Linked DNA regions of Homo sapiens: region 2 is linked to region 1. The links are contacts of gene promoters, found by promoter capture Hi-C in human tissues and cell types (Jung and others, 2019). All regions are on one chromosome and are shown on one strand. The core of a region is centred on a gene start or on the middle of the fragment in contact, and the rest is flanking DNA. Distances in the headings are between cores, read along the strand shown.

What was found. The method cuts DNA at HindIII sites, captures the fragments that hold promoters and counts their contacts. A contact is called where the count stands out against the background at its distance.
Region 2: a contact is called between a fragment that was not itself captured here and the fragment with the promoter of NBEA in region 1, in 1 of the 25 tissues and cell types used here (dorsolateral prefrontal cortex).

What each region holds. Positions count from the first base shown.
Region 1 is chr13:34,937,945-34,943,821 of GRCh38, reverse strand. NBEA (neurobeachin) reads right to left here and starts at 1,552. Exons shown (of 59, transcript NM_001385012.1): 1 at 708-1,552. The coding sequence starts at 1,001. It overlaps LOC124903231 (a long non-coding RNA gene), which reads left to right and starts at 1,632. Exons shown (of 2, transcript XR_007063908.1): 1 at 1,632-1,682; 2 at 2,120-2,501. RefSeq lists silencers at 1, 1,061-1,180, 1,621-1,690 and an enhancer at 1,861-1,970. The HindIII fragment of the contact is 6,257 bases long and covers 1-5,481 here.
Region 2 is chr13:34,752,028-34,757,467 of GRCh38, reverse strand. No RefSeq gene overlaps it. Among named protein-coding and RNA genes, the nearest start is that of LINC00457, 110 kb to the right of the region's middle. The HindIII fragment of the contact is 8,365 bases long and covers 1-5,440 here.

The DNA.
Region 1 (5,877 bases), core at 303-2,802:
AAAGTAACCACAGAAATCAACCTGTGTGATTTGGTGTCCTCACACACCTTGTGTGCACAAAAAATGACTAAGAGATCAGTATATTCAGGGCAATATTACAAAGAAGGGACGGCTGCTTCTGAGATGGAGGGGGATGGATACAGACACAACACTCTCCATCATGGCCTTGGAATATTTAAAGACAGATGCAAAACTGCATCATTTTCTGTCTCCTTCGAAAACATCACACCCCAGCTGCTCAAGTTGGAAGCTAATGCGCTTCTCACATTTCAGCAGCACGGGGGAATTTAGGCTCCAGGGGCAAGGCTGTCATCCTCGGAGAGCGACACCAAGGACAATTAAGTGTGAGAAAAAGAACCCCAGAGAACAGGAGGCCTCCTCACCTCCTAACTAAACTCTAAAGTCGACCCAAAACCTTCACCGCGGGTACTGGGTTACTCGCGGTCCTAAAAAGTGAGAAGAAGCGGTGTTAAGTTGGGCACTGCGCTCAGGTGGCAGGAGAGGACCAGAAAGAGGAGAGGAGGGAGGTGGCGTGGCTCTAGCAGCGCGCAGGCAGGTCACCCGCTGGGCAATACCGGCTGAACGCTCTGCGCTCCCAGGGACGCGCGGCGCGTGTGACCCTGGGGGTGAAGGGTGGGAGGGAAAGGCGCTGGGGACGGTGTATGTGGGGACTGGGGAAGCAGATTGAGAGCACGCCTTTTCCTTACCAGGTTGAGCACCGTCTCCACGATGTCCCTGTTGCTGACCTCTCCGACCTGTATGAGTCCAATCAACACTGCGAATTTCATCCGGATGTTGCGGATCGGCACCGAAGGGTTAATCATCCCCGCGGGGAGCATCACCGAGCCGGAGCCGGACGCCCCCCTTAGCTCCCCCATCCCGCTGCCCCCGGTGCCGCCACCACCGCTGCCCCCGCCGCCTCCGCCAGCGGCCCCGACGGCAATGAGCCCCACGGGCTGAGGCTCGAGCCCCGGGCCCGGGCCCGGCTTCTCGCTAGCCATTGGCCCCCCTCCTGAGGAGAAGGGAAGAGCAGCGGCGCTGCCGCCGCCGGTACCGTTATACCTGCCTCGGCCCCCGCCCCCCGGCCGTCGCCTCGGAGCCCCAGCATCCACCAGCGCCGCGGCGCCGGGCCCGCTCCCCGCCTGCGCCTCAGCCCGGCCCGCTCCGGCGCTCTCCCCCGCGGAGGCGGCGGGGGATCCGCAGGCTTATTCTCGGCGGTGGCGGTACCGCTAACCGCTGCCGGGCAAGCGGCTGTGCCCGCCCAGCAGGTGTGCCGCTGCCGCTGCCGCTGCCGCCGCCGCTGCCTCTGCTCTCTCCCTCTCCCGGTCTGTCCGGCCCGGCCCGCCCCCCGCGGAGATGCTGCAGCCGCTCCGAGAAGCCCGAGGACGCGAGCAGCTGGCCACGACGCTGGCCGGTGCTGAAGCTCAGGCTGTGGCCGATGCTATTGACGCTGCTGCCGCCGCTGCTACGGCCACCACTGTTGTTGTGAAGCCCCGACGCCGCCGCTCACTCCGCCATGTTGCCGCCCCCTGCCTGCGGTAGCAGCCACTGCGCCTGCGCACAGCCTCCGGGGGGGCGGAGCCCTCGGTGCACCCCCTCTTTTGCCCTGCCCTCCTTCTCTTCCCACCCACCCACCCCGACACCCCTCGTCCCTCCCCCAACCACCCCGAACGGATAGACAGGTGAGCAGGTGCATGGGGACTGCTGCCAGACACTGGGGCAAGCTGGCAGAGGCGGGGCGGGTAGTGGCTTCCTTGTGGTTTTTCCCTTGAGGGCGGATTCTCCCTTTGGGGAAGGACACAGTGTGCATGTCTTGCCTTCGCTGCCACCTCCTCCTTCTCTCAATATCCTCTTGCTGGGAGGAGGTTCCTCATCTCAGTTGTTGCATCCAGCTGCTGCTACTGCCAGTGCCACGTGCCTTGTAAGGTAGGGGAGTGGCAGACGACCTCTTTCTGCCCCTCCTCGCCCTTCCTCGCAGTCCTGTCCGCCTGCCCTCCCTAGAATTTCCCAAAGAAAAAGTGGCTGGCAAAGCAGAAACAAACGCGCGGGGGGGCGGGGGGGCGATCCTGCATTGTCGGGGGAAGAATACAGACGGAGTGTAATGGTGCTTTTTCTACAGCCATGAAAGAGGCTGACACCTGCACACTCAGGCACGACTTAAAATAGAACTTGTCAAACAGTGATCCTCTCTGGATCAAGCTCGGAACAACAAACAGCTCTTGAACTCGCCTCCCAGCCTAAAAAGACTGCAGTGTGTGACACTGTGGGGTAGTTTGGTGGGAACGACAAATCCCACACTTTCAAAATCCTGACAATCCTCAGGTATGATGCCAATTATTAATGTTTCCTTTTTTCACAGGCACGTACAATTCAGAGGACTTTCGAAATTATCTAAAAACATGGGTGATTCTCACTGCCAGCCTTGTCTGTGAGAAAAGTACATATCTATGTCTGCACAGATACGAGACAAAAAATAAACCTTTAATTTTTAAAAATTAAAATGTACACAGTAATCTTGCTGTTAGTATTGAATTAAAACTAAATAGGCATGACTGTTCCTTGAAAGGAATGATATAATTTTCTTTAATATTTCATGAGGTCTTCCCTTTTCAATAAAGATTATTGCAAGTCACCAGAAATATTAGGTATCTTGAGGTATATTCAGATCGTTTTAATTGTCCTCTCAAATGAAAAAGGTCAATATACAAATCCACCATAATCAGTTTTGTTATTATTCATATTTAATTGGACCTGCCAGTCAAGTTAACTCCCAGGATATGGGAACACGGTAAAATTCTAAGTACCACAGGTTATAAAAAAGTTCCTCAAAACCAGTACTTAGGATGAATTCTTGGTTGCATGTCTGTTTGTTTAAACTTGCACCAAAGTGATTGAATTGTTAAAGTAGTTAAGCAAACACTTCTGAAAGCAGTGGTAACTAGCATGTCCATTTAAATTAAATGGCAATTGAATTATAAAATGCTAGAATGCTTGAAACTGTACGGGAAATTTACAAAACATACAAGTCATAATAGTATGACTTGAGATATACTATATAATTGAAAAATCCTGTAACGTTTATATCCTTCTACTACATTTTTGTCTGTCCCAAGTGAGTATCATCTGCTTTTAAGAGTACTGTTTCATTTGCAAATTTAAAATGATATCTTTGTAAAATACATAAATCTAGACTGAAAGGTTGTCACACTAAGTTTTTTTACCCACTGTGCATATATCTATATGGCAGCAGGTTCTACCTTTTGCTATTTTTAGACTTCTTGCATGAGTACTTTGAGAGACAGTGACAACCTGAACTTTCTATTTCCTTTCTGAATGAATAGCTTAACATCATTTTTAACATTTCCATTTTGATTTTTCTTGTATTTTTTCTTAAGTAGTATGTATATGCAGTTGGTTGTATTTTTCTGCTCATTTTTCTTAGTGAAGATAGTGAGTGGGTAAAGATAATATCACCATTTCTAAGTAGGAAAACTCCACTTCTTTTGCCTACTTAATTCAATTTCAGAGATATTTAAAAGAGCTTACCAATTAAAAATCTTTCTCCAGTAGACAATCAGCTCCTCGCAGGCGCTATGATACTGTGGAAAGTGCATGATTCTTTGAGTCATAGTTACAACTTACTACCTTTGCAGTCTACTCAAGCTATTTGAGTTTCAGTCTCCTGGTTCCTTAAGTAGGAATGATAATATGTGTTTCATAGGGAAGTAAGAATTCCATAAAATAATTTCAGCTGAGCAGCTAGCATATAGTCAATGTGTCTTTGTGTCCTTAGTATACAGGCATGTGTGTTGCATGACCTATAAACACATGTAATACCAATTATAACCACATACAAGTCTGCATAATTGCACAGTTATATGTCTTCCATACCATCCCAAAAGCATAAAGTTCAGAAAAGTCAACAGGTCTATTTCTTTTTGGCCTACAAAACCTTTTCCCGGAAAATGTGCAAATAACTTTACATTTACATTAACAATATTTTGAAAGAAAAGCTACATAATAATAGAAGATACCCAATATGTATATTTTTAAATCTCCAGATTAAAAAATATATTTTATGTGGTGAATATTAATTTTGTATGCATTTTTGCATACCCATACTTCCTAAGGACAATCATTCAAAGATAAGAAACCTGTGAATCTGAGTTTCAGGAAGCAATATTGCAGAGAGGTTGAGAAGTCATGCCCCAGATTCAATGGAAGCTGGATTTAGATTCTAGTTCCACCACCACTTATATGTGTGATGTTGGGAAAATGACTTTAGCTTCAAAGCTTCAGTTTACTCAACCCAAAGTAAGGATGATAATACTACTTTATAGGATTAAAGGAGCTAATACATTTAACGTACTTAATGTAGTAGTAAGTGGCAATCAATAATGTTTCCCTTCATTGGCTGCCGGAAAATACCCACAGTTATTTTGTGTCATTATTTTTGGGTTTTTTTTTTTTTTGCACCTACCTTGCCTGACATAATTTACATTGAATAAATATGTTCAAAAATGAATGGATGGAAACAGCCGTTCTCCACACTATTCCCGTTTCCTTCACCTGTTCTTTAAAGAACACATTTCTTGCTTTCCTCTAAACTTTATCTGAACAGAATACTCCAAATTCAATGTGGGTTTAGACCTGTATAAAACAGAGGGAAATTCTTACCTCACCCTCAACCTTTAGCAATATAGCTCCTGTTAATGTTGCCCCAAATCAAATTAGATCTGTTTGGTTTGTTTTGGTTTTGGATTTTTTTCTTAACATGACACTAATGATTCGTGTAATGTAGTAATGATTCACATTTGGCACGTAGTAGGTTCTCAAATAATTTTGGTTCCATTCTCCTCTCATATTGAAATTATTATCACCATTAAATTAGTTACAGATCTGCCCATTCTTCCTGGTAATAGGTCTCGCATTCATCCCACTTTTTTCATCCTCACTGCAGCCACCCTGATTCAGATCCCAGTCACTTCATACCTGGTCTCCTCTTTTCCACACTCACTCTTCTCCAGTCCATCCTTACATGGGTAATCTTCGTAAAGGTCCATCTTGATGGACAGATTAGACCATCAGGATTAATTAGGATTAATAAAGAGTTTTACTTTATTAATCACAATAGCTTCTGCATGAAATAATTATCGACCTGAAAAACTAAGGCGTTTTCTTTTGTTATTACTGTTTTTTTAGCAGCAGCATATCTACAATTTGTAGCTTTACATGTAGATTTTGAGATATAAGTACAAAATTGAACATATCAATTTAAATTTAAATTTTATTTTAAGGCCAGGCATGGTGGTCCATGCTTGTAATCCCAACACTTCGGGAGGCCAAGGCAGGTGGGTCACTTGAGGTCAGGTGTTGAAGATCAGCCTGGAAAACACGGTGAAACCCCATCTCTACTAAAAATACAAAAACTAGCCAGGTGTGGTGGTGGCCACCTGTAATTCCAGCTACTCAGGAGGCTGAGGCAGGAGGATCAGTTGAACCCGGGAAGCAGAAGTTGCAGTGAGCAGAGATCATGCCACTGCACTCTAGCCTGGGCAAGAAACCAAGACTCTGTTTCAAAACAAAAAAAAAAGATTATTTAATACAAATTTTCTATTTAATTATCCATTAAATTTCATCTGCTAGGAATTTCTTAATCCTGATTATATCATGCAAATAATTTATTGTCTTATTAGTCTATGTGTAAATTTGGGAGCATTCCTTCTATACCTCCATTCAAATGTTGATTGAACAGGATGAAAACAGCTCAGCAGTCACCAGTATCACTCTGCTTGAATCAATTCACGTTTTTCAAACTGTGGGTCCCATCCTAATAGGGAGTCATGAAATTGATTTAGTGGGTTGCAACCAACAGGG
Region 2 (5,440 bases), core at 616-3,115, 190 kb after region 1:
GAAACAACCCAAATGTCTGTCAACTGATAAATGGCTAAATAATATGAGGTACATTCTTACAGAGGAATATTATTTCTCAATTGGAATGAAATATCAATACATGCTACAGCATAGATAAATCTTGACAACAGTCTACTCCATGAAGGGAGCTGGTCACAAAAGACCATGTTTATTATGGTTCCATTTATATTATATCTATAGACTAGGCAAATCTATACAGACAGAAAGTATATTACATGTTTTGGGTATAGTTTCCTCTTCTTTTTCTTTGTTAACGTGGAAAATTAGATTTGAGATCATCTTCTTTTTTTGTTTTTTTTTTAAGAAAAAAGTGTTTACAGCTATAAATTTTCCTCTGACCACTGCTTTCTCAGCATCCCATAACTTTTGTTATACTGTGTTTTTGTTTTTATTTATATCAAAGTATTGTTTGAATTTTCTTTGTGATTTCTTCTCCTACCATGGGTTATTTAGAATTTTGTTGTGAATTTCCACATATTTATAAATGCCTCAAATGCCTGATATTAATTGATAATTTAATTTCATTGTGGTCAGAGAGCATATTTGGCATAACTCTAATCCTTGTGAATTTACTGAGATATGTTCAATGCCTCGTGTATAATCAGTCTTGGAGAATGTTTCATGTGTACTTGTGAAGAATGTGTAATCTGTTGTTGCTGGGTGGATTGTTTTATAGATGTCTGTTGGGCCTAGTTGGTTTATGGTGTTGTTGAAGTCCTCTATTTCCTTGTTGATCTTCTCCCTTGTTCTATTCATTATTAAAGTGAGGGGATTGAAGACTCCAACTATTATCGTTGAATTTCATACTTCTTTAATTCTGTCCATTTTTGCTTTGTGTATTTATTAGGTGTATACATGTTTTGTTATCTTCCTGATGAATTGACCCTCTTGCCATTTTGAAATGTCCCGTTTTAACTCTAGAAACATTTTTTTTGTTTTACATCTACTTGGTATGATATTACTACAGCCACTCTGGCAATTTGACAGTTGACATCTATCTCCTTTCAACACACAGCAAATCTCAATGTAATTGTATCTAGTAAGATATAGTAAAGATTAGTTCACCAAATGATTAAAAATTAACTTTTCATAACTGTACAACTTGGCTATGGTAAACATATTGTTGACTTTGGATGCATAAGGGTGTTTATGGCACCGTATAATTAAATTATGCTGCCATGTTGAAGAAAGAAATGAAGCATAGAGCTTGAACAATTCCCCTCGCGTGTTCTTACTGTCATTAAAACATTCTCCACATGCCTGAAGTGTTTGGGTGACATTCTCCTATTAAGCCTAGAGGGTATTTATTGTGATTTAGCACAAGACTAAAACTATCAAGAAAAGACTATATTCGTGCATCAGCTCAGATCGTTAGCTTATGACACTTCTACCTGATTGAGGATTCACAACATACTATAATTAATCAATCTCTATATTCAACAAATATTTACTGAACACCAACTACTTCTTGACCCTGATTTAAGCGCCTGGAATACAGTAAATGAACAAGACATACATGTTGTCATGGAACTTATATTCTAGGGTGAAGATTAAACACACAAATAAGAATTTTTCTTTATTACAGGTTATATGAAGAAAATAAAACATGATGGTGTGATAGTGAATGAAGTGGGGGATATGGATCAATTTTAAATGTGTTGGTCTGCAGAAGTATCTCTGCAGAGTTGGCATCTGAGAGGAGACCTAGTGATTAGGATCAGTTAGATGAGGAGCAGAGGGGAGAGTGACCCAGGTAGAGTGACTTGCCACTGCAAGTGCAAACTCCGGAGACCAGAATAGGGCTGTCTTATTTAGAGAGTATAACAAAGGCCATTGTGGTTGGAGCACAGTGAGCAAAAGAGGAGAGTTGGGAGAGGAAGTCAGAGAATAGACAAAGATATTAAGAGAAATCCCACACCTTAAGGGACACAATAAGGAATCTGGATGTTATTCTACATGCACTCAGAAGTCATTGGGGGTTTTTTAACTAGACAATTGATGTGATGAATGTTTTAAACACATTATTTTGGATTCGGTGTGAAGACTAGATATCAGGATGGAGATGGAGCAGGTCTGCAAGCAAGAGATAGTTCAGACAGGAGATCACACAGTGGCTGACACCAGGTATTTGCAATAGAAACTGAGAAATGGGTGGAATCAGGGTATATTTTGAAGGTAGATATGATTCCTAGGTTTGTACTCTAAATTGGGTCGTAAGTTTATTGGATTATGGCACTATTTACTAACATATAGAAGACCACTGGGAGGAAAAAACAGGTTTTGGAGGCCAACACACACACACACGCAGACACACACCCCACCAATAACAAAAAGGCAAAGCACACACATTCTGTTTTGAATATGTTAAGTTGGAGGTGTAAATGTTAAGTTTACATCTAAGTATAGATTTTAAGTAGTCCGTTAGATTAATTAGAGTATGAATCTCATCAAGGAGGTTGGGCCCAAATGTAAAAAATTGGATGCAATTAGGTGTCATCTATAGCTATGGGAGATCACCAAGAGGGAAAGCATAGATCAAAGATAGAAAAATGATAAAGACTGACTCCTGAGACCTCAGATGGGAGTCTTGCAGAAGAGGAGTGGCCAGTAAAGGAACTGAGGAAGAATGGACAGGGAAGTAGTAGGAAAGCTAAAAGGTGGGTTTCATGGGAACCAAGAAATAAAAACATTTCAATAAGGAGAGACTGTTCACTCTTTAAACTGTTGTTGAGAGCACGCAATAAGGTCGGCGAATTAAAGATTGTCTTTGGTAGTAAGGCAGTCACTGGTGCTTGGTTATGGGCAGTTCCGTTGGGTTGGAGTGAGAGAGAGAAACCCTACTGAAGGGGATCAAAGAGATGTCAGGAAGCGAAGCCATAGGGGAAGTGAATATTAGAGAGCTATTTTAATCAGTTTTGCTATGATAGGGAGCAGAGGATTCGGAGCAGCCTTTGTGGAGGATTGCAGGATCATGGAAACACTCGTTAAAAAAGGGAGATCCTACAGCAAATTTGTATGCTCATGGCAACGAGAGAGAAAGACACTAATAATTCCAAAGAGAGTCAGAAATAACCTTGAGAAGCATAGAGAGGATCCGATCCAGAGCACACTATGGTAGCCTATGCTGAGAAGACAAACATTTCTTCCATTGAAACCTGAAGAAAAGCAGAGCATATGTTTTCTAACACAGGTGGAGATGATGCTAGAAAGATACGGGAATTCCTATATGATTGTGTCTAGCTTTTCAGTGAAGTATGAGGTAATGTCATCAGTTAACAGTTACTATAACAGGTGGGTTACAAGGAATATTGGGGATCAGAAAACAGATGAAAAGGTGCTAAATGGACCTCTTGAAGAGTGGGAGAAATTTTCTTCTAGGGAGTATTTAGATTTATGAGGAATTTTTTGGTACCGTTTTGCATTTAAAGAGTACAGTTATAACAGCTACAATTATTTTCTCCAGGGCATTTTGTCAGATAGGGGGATAGTTCACGTGGTGTTGTGTCCGGAATTGGTTCCTTCCTATGGGTTTTTGGTCTGGCTGACTTCAATAATGAAACCGCGGACCCCTGCGGTGAGTGTTACAGTTCTTAAAGATGGTGTGTCCAGAGTTTGTTCCTTCAGATGTTCGGATGTGTCCGGAGTTTCTTCCTTCCGGTGGGTTCGTGGTCTTACCTGACTTCAGCAGGGAAACCGCAGACCTTCGCAGTGAGTGTTAACAGCTCTTAAAGGTGGCGCGTCCGGAGTGGCTTCTTCCTTCTGGTGGGTTCGTGGTCTCGGTGACTTCCAGAGTGAAGCCGCAGACCTTCCCAGTGAGTGTTACAGTCATAAAGATACAGCGGATCCTAAGACTGAGCAGCAGCAACATTTATTGTGAAGAGCCAAAGAACAAAGCTTCCACAACGTGGAACTGCCCCTGAGCGGGTTGCTGCTGCTGGCTGGGGTGGCCAGCTTTTATTCCCTTATTTGGCCCTGTGCACCTCCTGCTGATTGGTCCATTTTACAGAGCGCTGATTGGTCCATTTTACAGAGTGCCAATTGGTCCATTTTTACAGAGTGCTGATTGGTGCATTTTTACAGAGCACTGATTGGTGTGTTTACAATCCTTTAGCTAGACAGAAAAGTTCTCCAATTCCCACTGGACCCAGAAGCCCAGTTGGCTTCACCTCTCAGTGTTGCTTATTTTCCCAGGTGTGTGAAAATTTATTTAGAGGATCACAAAGCAATAATGTGTTAAATGTGCTTCATCACCTTCCCCCATATACACACATATCTACACATACACATCATTCACATGTGTACTGCACTCTCGTGTGTTCACACACACATCACGCTATGCACACCCACCCACCACATTCACAAGCTTATCGCACTTACTTCTTGCAATAAACGTTTATTTATTTATTTATTTATTTATTTATTTATTGAGATGGAGTCTCACTCTGTCGCCCAGGCTGGAGGCACTAGCGTGATCTCGGCTTACTGCAACCTCCACCTCCTGCGTTCAAGCAATTCTCCTGCCTCAGCCTCCAGAGTAGCTGGGCTTCCAGGTGCATGCCGCCAAGCTTGGCTATTTTTTATATTTTTAGTAGAGATGGGGTTTCACTATGTTGGCAAGGCTGGTCTCTTATCTCCTGGCCTCAAGTAATCCGCCTGTCTCGGCCTCCCAAAGTGCTGAGATTAGAGGTGTGAGCCACAGCTCTCGGCGGCAATAAACTCTTAACACTTTACTGCTGTTTTTGAAGTATCTCAGAATTGAAGAGGGCTTGTAGTTTCCTCTCGATGAATCATTGTCCTCCCTGTTTTTCAAGTGTTTTAAAAATGATCATGAAATAGAGGCAATTTTAGGGTTCTGTTGTGTCACTTTGGGTCACCCCTTTGGTGGAATTTGTCTTTGGAGCTTTTTCCTTTGACGTCTAGCATCCTATGTCCTGGCTGTCACCAGATCCTCTCAGGCAGTGAGCCTTCTCTAGACTTTCCACACCCACGCATCACTCCTGTTCTCTCATCAGCATAGCTAGATTCAGGCTGTGCGACCTATTGTGTGGTATGGGAACAGTAATAATTTATTGTGAAGATTAAAAAATATACTGCACAGAGAATGCCCAGTTTCATGTGCAGAGTATGTTTTCAATAAATGCCGAAATAAACTCTCTTTCTCTCTCCCTTAATCTCTATCTCTGAATATCTCTTGCCTATTTTACCTGCTCTGGTCATATTTCCTCAAGTATCTTCATTTAGCTAAGCAGTTTTCACTAGTATTAGTTAACTATTGATAATAGAATTTAAAATTTTAGTTCCTCGGGAAATATTGTGCGAATCTATGTGGACTCCAATAATAGGGCTTCAGGTGGACAAAAGAGGTATATTTTGGGCATGCAGATCTTTTCAGTTGACTCAAATTCTGCAGAAGGACTGA